Linked DNA regions of Homo sapiens: regions 1 and 3 are each linked to region 2. Evidence: promoter capture Hi-C in human tissues and cell types (Jung and others, 2019). All regions are on one chromosome and are shown on one strand. Each heading gives the region's core, a stretch centred on a gene start or on the middle of the fragment in contact. The rest is flanking DNA. Distances are from core to core; before and after follow the strand shown. Region 1 holds the start of HOXB1 (homeobox B1). Region 2 overlaps HOXB3 (homeobox B3). Region 3 holds the start of HOXB9 (homeobox B9).

What was found. Contacts are between HindIII fragments. The study calls those that stand out against the background at their distance.
Region 1: a contact is called between the fragment with the promoter of HOXB1 here and a fragment that was not itself captured in region 2, in 6 of the 25 tissues and cell types used here (H1 embryonic stem cells, liver, mesendoderm cells and 3 more).
Region 3: the fragment with the promoter of HOXB9 here is called in contact with a fragment that was not itself captured in region 2 in 3 of the 25 tissues and cell types used here (H1 embryonic stem cells, mesendoderm cells and small bowel).

What each region holds. Positions count from the first base shown.
Region 1 is chr17:48,529,343-48,532,341 of GRCh38, reverse strand. HOXB1 (homeobox B1) reads left to right here and starts at 1,331. Exons shown (of 2, transcript NM_002144.4): 1 at 1,331-2,014; 2 at 2,467-2,999. The coding sequence starts at 1,438. The coding sequence ends at 2,795. RefSeq lists an enhancer at 861-1,441. The HindIII fragment of the contact is 7,824 bases long and covers 1-2,999 here.
Region 2 is chr17:48,565,467-48,568,467 of GRCh38, reverse strand. The region is part of intron 2 of HOXB3 (homeobox B3); the gene reads left to right. Among named protein-coding and RNA genes, the nearest start is that of HOXB-AS2, 11 kb to the right of the region's middle. The HindIII fragment of the contact is 3,873 bases long and covers 1-3,001 here.
Region 3 is chr17:48,625,103-48,628,079 of GRCh38, reverse strand. It overlaps HOXB9 (homeobox B9), which reads left to right and starts at 1,722. Exons shown (of 2, transcript NM_024017.5): 1 at 1,722-2,327. The coding sequence starts at 1,811. RefSeq lists a silencer at 626-781 and an enhancer at 2,192-2,869. The HindIII fragment of the contact is 6,922 bases long and covers 1-2,977 here.

The sequences.
Region 1 (2,999 bases), core at 82-2,581, 36 kb after region 2:
AGAAGACACATCCTGTGTCCCTCCGCAACAGCCACACAGAACAAAAAGGGGCGAGACTCCACTCCTCACTCTGGAGTCTTAGAATTCAGAGCCTCAGGGCCTCCACCCCGATTCTCCCACTCTCTGACCAAACTCCCTTTATCAATCCTAGAAAAATTACTGAAATCTGGAGGAATCTTTAAGATTTAACTGGTATTAAATTTATGCATTTGAGGTTTGGAAATTTTTTTTTTTTGGAAGGAGATGGAGGGTGGTGAAGGAGAGACAGGTAGGAGGGAACCAGGAGAATGCAGGTCTCCACTAGTTTTAAACACTTCAAGAAGAGAATAAAAAATTCCCCTCCTCTTCACCCCGCTGTAAACATCACCTGGCTGTGCTCATTGTGGCTCTCTAGAGAGATATAGGGAGTTATTTAAGTCTGAGTGAGTGAGCCAGCTACAGCTATGGATGGCTAGAGAGAGGATAAATACATCTAGAGAGATGAGAGGTAGGGAACGAATATAAATATGGAGAAAGATGGACGAACAGAGAGATGGATTGAGACAGAGAGAATATAAAGAGAGGCTGAGGGAGAGAAATGGATGTGTGAATGAGGAGAGAACATTTATGCAAAGAGAGAGAGAGGGAAGATGGGGCATTTCTCATCCTTTTCTCCACATTTCTGTAGTCCTGCCTTGCTCCCTGAAATGCCAATTTCCCACCCCTGGCTTCATGAATTCTTCCTCTAGATTCTAGATCCTGCCCCACACCCTTAGGTGTTTTTGCACCACCTTCCCCCACCTCCCCACCACACAGTCATCCATTTGGCCCAAGATAACATACCTCACCCGGCTGTCCTAGCCCACCACCCTAAGACAAATTGGAAGAAAGGAACATGGTTTGGGAGTTCTGGGCAAAGTATGGAAGCTGGATTCCCCACCTCCAGGTCCACAGACTTAGGGGGAAGGTTTCTCTGAGGGGTGGGAAGAGTGAGGGGCAGCTGGCTTGAATTTGTCCAAATCTAATAACCCAGGAGCCTATTGAAGGCCTTGGGGGTTGGGAGGGAAGGAAAGTCTTGAATATTCTCCTAACTTTTTCCCCCTCTCCCTCTGGTCCCTTCTTTCCAAAAGTCTTTGAAGAAAGATGTTTTTGACGCTTCCATGTCGCTCTCAGATGGATGGGCTGCGGGTGATTGAAGTGTCTTTGTCATGCTAATGCTTGGGGGGTGATGGATGGGCGCTGGGGCTGCCAAACTCTGGCCCGCTTAGCCCATTGGCCTGGGAGAGATCACATGTGCCCCCTCACCCCCACTCCCTACCCCCTTCCTAGGGAAGCGCTTGCCCAGGCGAGCGGGTCAGGCCATGGATTCGAGCCCCAGCGCTGTGACATACTGCCGAAAGGTTGTAGGGCAAGAGGGTGTCTCCCCCAAACGGGCCGACCCTCCTGCGGCCTTGACGCATGGACTATAATAGGATGAACTCCTTCTTAGAGTACCCACTCTGTAACCGGGGACCCAGCGCCTACAGCGCCCACAGCGCCCCAACCTCCTTTCCCCCAAGCTCGGCTCAGGCGGTTGACAGCTATGCAAGCGAGGGCCGCTACGGTGGGGGGCTGTCCAGCCCTGCGTTTCAGCAGAACTCCGGCTATCCCGCCCAGCAGCCGCCTTCGACCCTGGGGGTGCCCTTCCCCAGCTCCGCGCCCTCGGGGTATGCTCCTGCCGCCTGCAGCCCCAGCTACGGGCCTTCTCAGTACTACCCTCTGGGTCAATCAGAAGGAGACGGAGGCTATTTTCATCCCTCGAGCTACGGGGCCCAGCTAGGGGGCTTGTCCGATGGCTACGGAGCAGGTGGAGCCGGTCCGGGGCCATATCCTCCGCAGCATCCCCCTTATGGGAACGAGCAGACCGCGAGCTTTGCACCGGCCTATGCTGATCTCCTCTCCGAGGACAAGGAAACACCCTGCCCTTCAGAACCTAACACCCCCACGGCCCGGACCTTCGACTGGATGAAGGTTAAGAGAAACCCACCCAAGACAGGTAGGGCTCAGATGTGGCCACCCCTTCTCCGGGGCCCAAAGCATCTCTGCTTCCCCTGCAGTGACATGTCCTGGGTCTGGGCTGGGTTCTTCTCTTTCAGCGGCTCTGGTAGACACAGGTAAGAGCACAACCTACGTCTCAGGTCAGGTGAGGTCTCCCCACCCAGTATGTAACCGGTCACCCCAGGAGTAAGTTTCCATACACACCCCACTTCCTGATCTGTGCACCCAGCACAGACCCAGGACCTGGTGTGCATGGGGGATGGAAGTATGGGGAAGGCTGCTCCAGACTTGGTGATCACCATGGGGGTACCTGGTGGTCCCTGGGAACTTTGACAACTGTACTTGGGCAGAATGGCAAATGGAGGTCCAGAGCCAGCCCCGGGAGGAGGGAAGCGGAAGGAGAAAGAGGTGAGAGAATTGACCTGGCCTTTCTCCCTGCCCCGCCCCTAGCGAAGGTGTCAGAGCCAGGCCTGGGCTCGCCCAGTGGCCTCCGCACCAACTTCACCACAAGGCAGCTGACAGAACTGGAAAAGGAGTTCCATTTCAACAAGTACCTGAGCCGGGCCCGGAGGGTGGAGATTGCCGCCACCCTGGAGCTCAATGAAACACAGGTCAAGATTTGGTTCCAGAACCGACGAATGAAGCAGAAGAAGCGCGAGCGAGAGGAAGGTCGGGTCCCCCCAGCCCCACCAGGCTGCCCCAAGGAGGCAGCTGGAGATGCCTCAGACCAGTCGACATGCACCTCCCCGGAAGCCTCACCCAGCTCTGTCACCTCCTGAACTGAACCTAGCCACCAATGGGGCTTCCAGGCACTGGAGCGCCCCAGTCCAGCCCTATCCCAGGCTCTCCCCAACCCCAGGCCTGGGCTTCACTGGCCTGGGGATCCTCTCTAGGGCTGAAATGCCAGTTTAGAGCTGCCTGGGGGTGGGAGGGGGGATGGGGAAACATTTTTCTCAGACCTGGGTGGCTGGGGGCCCTACAGG
Region 2 (3,001 bases), core at 103-2,602:
TTATTTCAGACGATTTACAGTAATATATCAGCAGTTAATATGAAAGCTCTATAGCTGGAGGTCTTAAATTACAGCATCTGTGATTATCAATTAAAGCGAGATTTTCATAAATTTGGTAAACCAGAAATGCCTCATTGGCATATAAACCCAGTCAATGACCATGGTCTAATATAAAAATTATATTTGTGAGCCTGATAGAGCCAACATTCCTGCAGCAGCAGACAGAGCTCCATTTTTTAGCAGCTCCCCTCCAGGAGTTTGGCTTCTCCAACTCCAGCCCTGGATGAACAAACCCAACTCTGAAGGCAGAAGGAGCCTTAGAGTAAGAGAGGTGGAAGTGGAGAAAGAAATTACTGGAGTTGAAGGCAAATATTTTTGTGATCAATGGAGACCAAATCAAAGTTCTGTGCAATTGGAAAGGGATGGGAGGGGTTCCGTTACATTATTAAAGCTTAATTTATAGGACTGATGTGTCTGGGGGGTGGTCAAAGGTGGAAAAGGAATCACCCAAATTGGGGGAGACAATGGAGGCAAGCAGAGGGTGAAGGGCAGGGAGAGAAGCTGAAAGCTTTGGCTCCCCACCCTCCTGGCTAACAAAACAAGGAAATGAATTCACACCCCAGGAGCCTTCCTTTGACCTGCTGAAACAAAGAAAAGTTTCCTCAGCAGTGAGGGACTCTGTGTTTGGGGCTAAAGTGGGGAGAAGTTCTCCGAAGTTTTTCTAGAAAAGAAATGTTCTAGGAATCAGGTGGTCCCAGAAAGTTGGGAGTGTTGGAGGATGTTGGGTGTGTTCTTTTAACTAAGTCCCCATCCAAAAAGGGAGCAAACGGGGTGCAGATTGGAGAGGGAGGGGAAGAGCTGTTAACTTTCTCCTATAGTTTCATGTGGAGGTCACAGTTCCTTCCTACTAGGGGAGAGGCTGCTGGTCAAGAGCAAAGCCAGAGGTGGCTTTGGGGAATGTTCTGCACTGTGCCCCAAAGTTGTGATGGATGAGGTGCAGAGGGCCAGAGCCTTCACCAACTCCAGTCCCAGCTGTTGGCCCCTCATTCCCTGACTGGAGCCAGGCCAACTGACTTTATAGCCACGATTATCTGTGATATTTAACTCTGCCTGCTAGTGTAAACCTTTGAGCAGGGAAGTTAGAGCAACGCCGCGCCCAGGTGTTAATTATTCATGGCATCCACTACGTGGAGTGGCAGCTTAGGCCCCAGTCCCTGCAGCATCCAGGAGCTCGCTCCCACACTCTGCTCCAAGTGAACACTGAGTCTCATCCATGTTAACAAGGGATTCTCAGTGGGTAGTGGGTGAAGCCTCCCAATTCAGGAGTCTCAGTTGAAAAGGGTTTGGGGAGAAAGAGAAGGCCAGGACCCAAGGCTGGGATGGGTAGAGGCACTGTCTGACCTGGATAAAAAGAACTAGGGAAAAGTCTGGATACAGGGGCAGCTTTGACAGCACTGGAGATTGTGAGGAGGTGGGAAGGGCTGGCAGAGGCAGCAAAGAGACCTGGGGCATAGGGGCTCCAAACCTTTCAGTCTCATTCCCCACCCACTCCTTGAGTGTTGGAGAATCCCACACACATTCAGTGTGAGAGGCAAGCAGTTCTACTTCTCCCTCATCTGGAAAGTGTTGGGGGGTATGACTGTGAAGAGGGTGCGTTCTCCCTCAAACCGGTGGTCCAGAGTTAGGGCAAAGTCTTGGAGTTTTTGAGAGAGCAGGGAAGGATCACTTCTTCCATGGGGAGGAGGAGGGACATGACAGAGAAGGAAGAGGGTAGAATCATTTGTATTAGCTTCTGAATTCAGCATGCTTTGAAAGATGGGAAAGAAAAGGATCTGCTCTTTGGGCCAGCCCATAGCTAGCATGGAGAGCCAGTCCCACAGGCCCCTTCCCCCTGCGTTTGCAACTCCTCCTCCCCAACCCTTTTCCATCTCCCCTCCTGCTGCTACCTTTGCCTGTGACGTGGAAGTCTGACCAACCACCCCCACCCCCACTCCACCAGCTTTTCCTCTTTATTCTTTCAGCCCTCTTCAGGTCTTTGTCTCCTCTGGCCCAGAGGAGAGGAGGTGACACTGATACCCCCTCCCCTTCCCTTTCCCCAACACGCACAGACTCTTCCCCAGGAGACAAAGCAAGGGGACCATCCCTTGCCACCATTATCTGGTAAATCCCCCATGTGATGCCTAATGCCTTCCATCCAGGCATCTAGGCCTACCCCAAATCAGCAAGTTTGAAAGGACTTTGTTGTTTATATATACATTTGCTTCATTTAGCTATGAAGCACCCTGTCTCTTACCAGTCCTGCACCCTCCACCCCACTGATTTGCTTTTGTGTTGTTCAGGGGTTGGGATAGAATGCATCTGGTAGACAGAGCTCTAAGAAAGCTGCTGACTCTGTCTTCTCCCCTAACTCTCTGCTGGTATCCTCTCTATATAATTGCAGTGTTTATCTCTGTGCCTTTAAGGAGGCAGGCTGCTAACGCTTTAGTGACCAGAGGAATTGGATAGAAAGATGAAGAGTGAGATGAGGAAGAGAGGGACCCAGAGAGAGAACAAGCAGCAGGATCCCTTTCTGGGATGGGAAGTCAAGGCTGAGCCCAAGGAGGTGATGACAGGGAGAGTGGAAACAAAGGCCAGTCAGAGGGGAAGGGAGGCTGTCCTGGAGGAAGGAGCCCCACAATTCACAAGGGGACACACACACAGAGTTAAGTGAGAACAAGGGCAGTGGGAAGGAAACTACCCCTTTTGTCCCCTTCTCTCTAGAAGAGAATTTCTCTGGATAGAGGGTGGGTTCCCCCACAGAGGAAAGGGAAGAAGAGACTCAACCTAATGGGTGAGCCCAGAAGTGATTTCTGGAGACACTCCTAAATCCTTTGCAAGGCTCAATTCAAATTCACTGAAGACACTGAGAGACGCAGAATTGGAAAAAGACAAAGGGGCTGTGAGAAAGGAACGGAGACAACAGAGATGGTTAGAAAAGACAGAGAGACCCAACACAGAAAAA
Region 3 (2,977 bases), core at 473-2,972, 59 kb before region 2:
TGTGGGAGGTGATCCGCAGCCTTCTACAAGGCAGAGGGGTAGGTGGCCAAAAAGATACGGACTCAAGTTAGAGTGGCCCCTCTTTTGCTAAAAGGACCGGACTGAGGGCAGCCTGCCTTATTAGGACTCAGAGTCAGAGAGTTGCCGAGAAATCCACCCCAATCTACCCCTGAGCCTAACCAGAGGAGAACTGGGTCTGTCCAGGGGTCACACCTCCCCAAGTGCCAGGAGAGGCGACTGCAACCAGGGCAGAAGCTGAGGAGCAGGGGCTGGGAGAGGAGCGAGGAAGCCAGTCGGTGGGCCCCGGGGGAGTCCCTGTGCAGGGCCACAGAATAGATATATATAAAAAGGGCTATTTGGAAGCTCCAATGAAGGGGTCTGCAGGGGGTAAGGCAGTGAGGGGAAGAGACTGACCATGGGCTCGCTGTCCACACTGGCCCCTATATCGGTGTTTGGAAATCTCCAGAGCAGGAGCCTCAGGTGAGAGGAGTAGTACAGGAGGGCTGAAAACTCAGCCCAGGCTCCTTCCTCTTTGGATGGAAGGGGAGATAACTTGGGACCCCTTCCCTTGCTGACTGGGGATCCTTTCCCAGGCCTCTGCTCTGGTCACACCTCAGGAAAGTGGCCTTAACCCTTTCTCCTATTTAGCTCCCTCATCAGGGCAAATTTAGGGGCCTGGGTGGTTATTCAGTGGAGAAAAGGAGAAATGGCTTCCCTCACCCCCACCCCCCACGTCACCACCACCATCTTAAATCCATCCTTCTGGCCAGAGTCAGAGAAAGGCCCAATAAATGTAAAGGCGCTCTGGTTCCTTGTATTAAACTCTTTCCTAGGCTCACGTTTCCGGGACCTGATGGATCCCTTTAACCTCAAGTAGTTTCTAATTTCAGGACAGATAGTGGATTCTTGGACACTCAGTCGTTTTATTCACCTCTCTCCTCCTCCCTCAGCTACTGAGGGGCCCAGGGAAGCTCGCAGTCATGTAAATCTCTACAAAGAGTGCAAGGAGAGCCCCCTCCAAAGCGGACAACGTCCTAAAATCCCCAACTTTTCCCCTCATCATTTTACTTCATCTCCTGTGGATTGCTGCTGCTGTTGTTGTTTAATAAACATCTTTTGTCAAGGGGAAAGAGAAGAGGAAATGAGGGCCTGCGGGGTGGAGGTGTGTGTGGGGGGACAGGAGCACCTCCTCTTCCAGTATCCTCTCGGGCCTCTATGGCTTCTCCCCGGGCTGGGGCTCTCTCCCTCCCTCCGCCCTTGCTCTCCCTCCCTCCCCGACCCGCCTGGGGAGAGGGCTCTACAGCCTGCGTCCCTCCCAAGGCAGCCCGCCGCTTCCCTCCGCCTCTCCTCCGCCCCCGCCGCCCCATGTTGAGAACTGCCCCCCTTCCTGCAGCGGGAGGGGGGGACCGGGCGGCCGGTAGCTGGGGCTGAGGTTACGTGGCCGCCGGAGCCCTGACGTGATAGCACATTGCATCAGCATAAAACAATCCATCCTCGATATGGAGTGCGGTGCGGACGGATGACAGCGAGAGCGCAGCCCCCTCGCCCGATTGATTTATGTCGGAGCTGACGCTTTATCAGGCAGTCGGAAAAACTTTGACCAATCATTTTGCAAGGAGAGCTGAGACGGGCTGCTCCACTGTACTTTGTTGGCTGAGAAGTTGAGCAGGGGGTGGGGGTGGGAGGGTGGGGGGCTGGGGGGGTCGCGTCCGAAAGCCCTCACACCGGTCCGGGTGCCACCTCTCCCTGCTTGGGCGCCGCCGCGCGAGCGCTTCCCTTCCCCCTGCAAGCGCCCGGATAATGTCTGAGAATGTCCATTTCTGGGACGCTTAGCAGCTATTATGTCGACTCGATCATAAGTCACGAGAGTGAGGACGCGCCTCCAGCCAAGTTTCCTTCTGGCCAGTACGCGAGCTCGCGGCAGCCGGGCCACGCGGAGCACCTGGAGTTCCCCTCGTGCAGCTTCCAGCCCAAAGCGCCGGTGTTCGGCGCCTCCTGGGCGCCGCTGAGCCCGCACGCGTCCGGGAGCCTGCCGTCCGTCTACCACCCTTACATCCAGCCCCAGGGCGTCCCGCCGGCCGAGAGCAGGTACCTCCGCACCTGGCTGGAGCCGGCGCCGCGCGGCGAAGCGGCCCCGGGGCAGGGCCAGGCGGCGGTGAAGGCGGAGCCGCTGCTGGGCGCGCCTGGGGAGCTGCTCAAACAGGGCACGCCCGAGTACAGTTTGGAAACTTCGGCGGGCAGGGAGGCCGTGCTGTCTAATCAAAGACCCGGCTACGGGGACAATAAAATTTGCGAAGGAAGCGAGGACAAAGAGAGGCCGGATCAAAGTAAGTTATAAAAAGTGAGGAAATACCCAGGCCGAAGGCCAGGAGGGGGGCGGGGAGGGGAAAGGCAATAAACTGCGGACAATGTGAAGGGAAACTGCGGCGGTGGCCGGAGAGCGGGCCGGGAGGAGGAGGGGAGAGGAAGGAAAGACGGAGGGAAGGGGAAAGCTGCGTGCTCTAGAAGGGGAGACTGAGGCCGCCAGAGGAGCGCTGCCCCCACTTCTCCAAGTCCTGCGGGGAACAGGGGCTCGGGGATCGACTTGCAGCTCTCTCGGCCCTCTTTCCCCCTCTCTCCCGGAGGCCCCAGCTGAAAGCCCGGCCAGAGACCGGCGACGGCCGGGAGAGGAGCTGGCGGGGGCCGGGGCCAGCGGCCAGCGAGGCCGAGAGCCGGCGAGGGCAAGGGCCGGAGCGCACTGGGCTGCCCGGGGCCGTGCGGCTGGCAGAGCTCCCCGCGCCACGCGCAGACCGTAAAAGCCGGCCAAGGGGAAGGGGGAGGGAGCTCATTAGGATTTTATTTGCGATGCAACAGCTTGGCGGAGGATTGTTCCTAGCAGATCTCGCGCTGTAGCCGCGCAGAGTCCGCAACCGGCGACAGGAGGGGCGGGGGAAGCCCAGGACGCGGTGACTGAGCCCCCTCCCCGGATGCGCCGGCC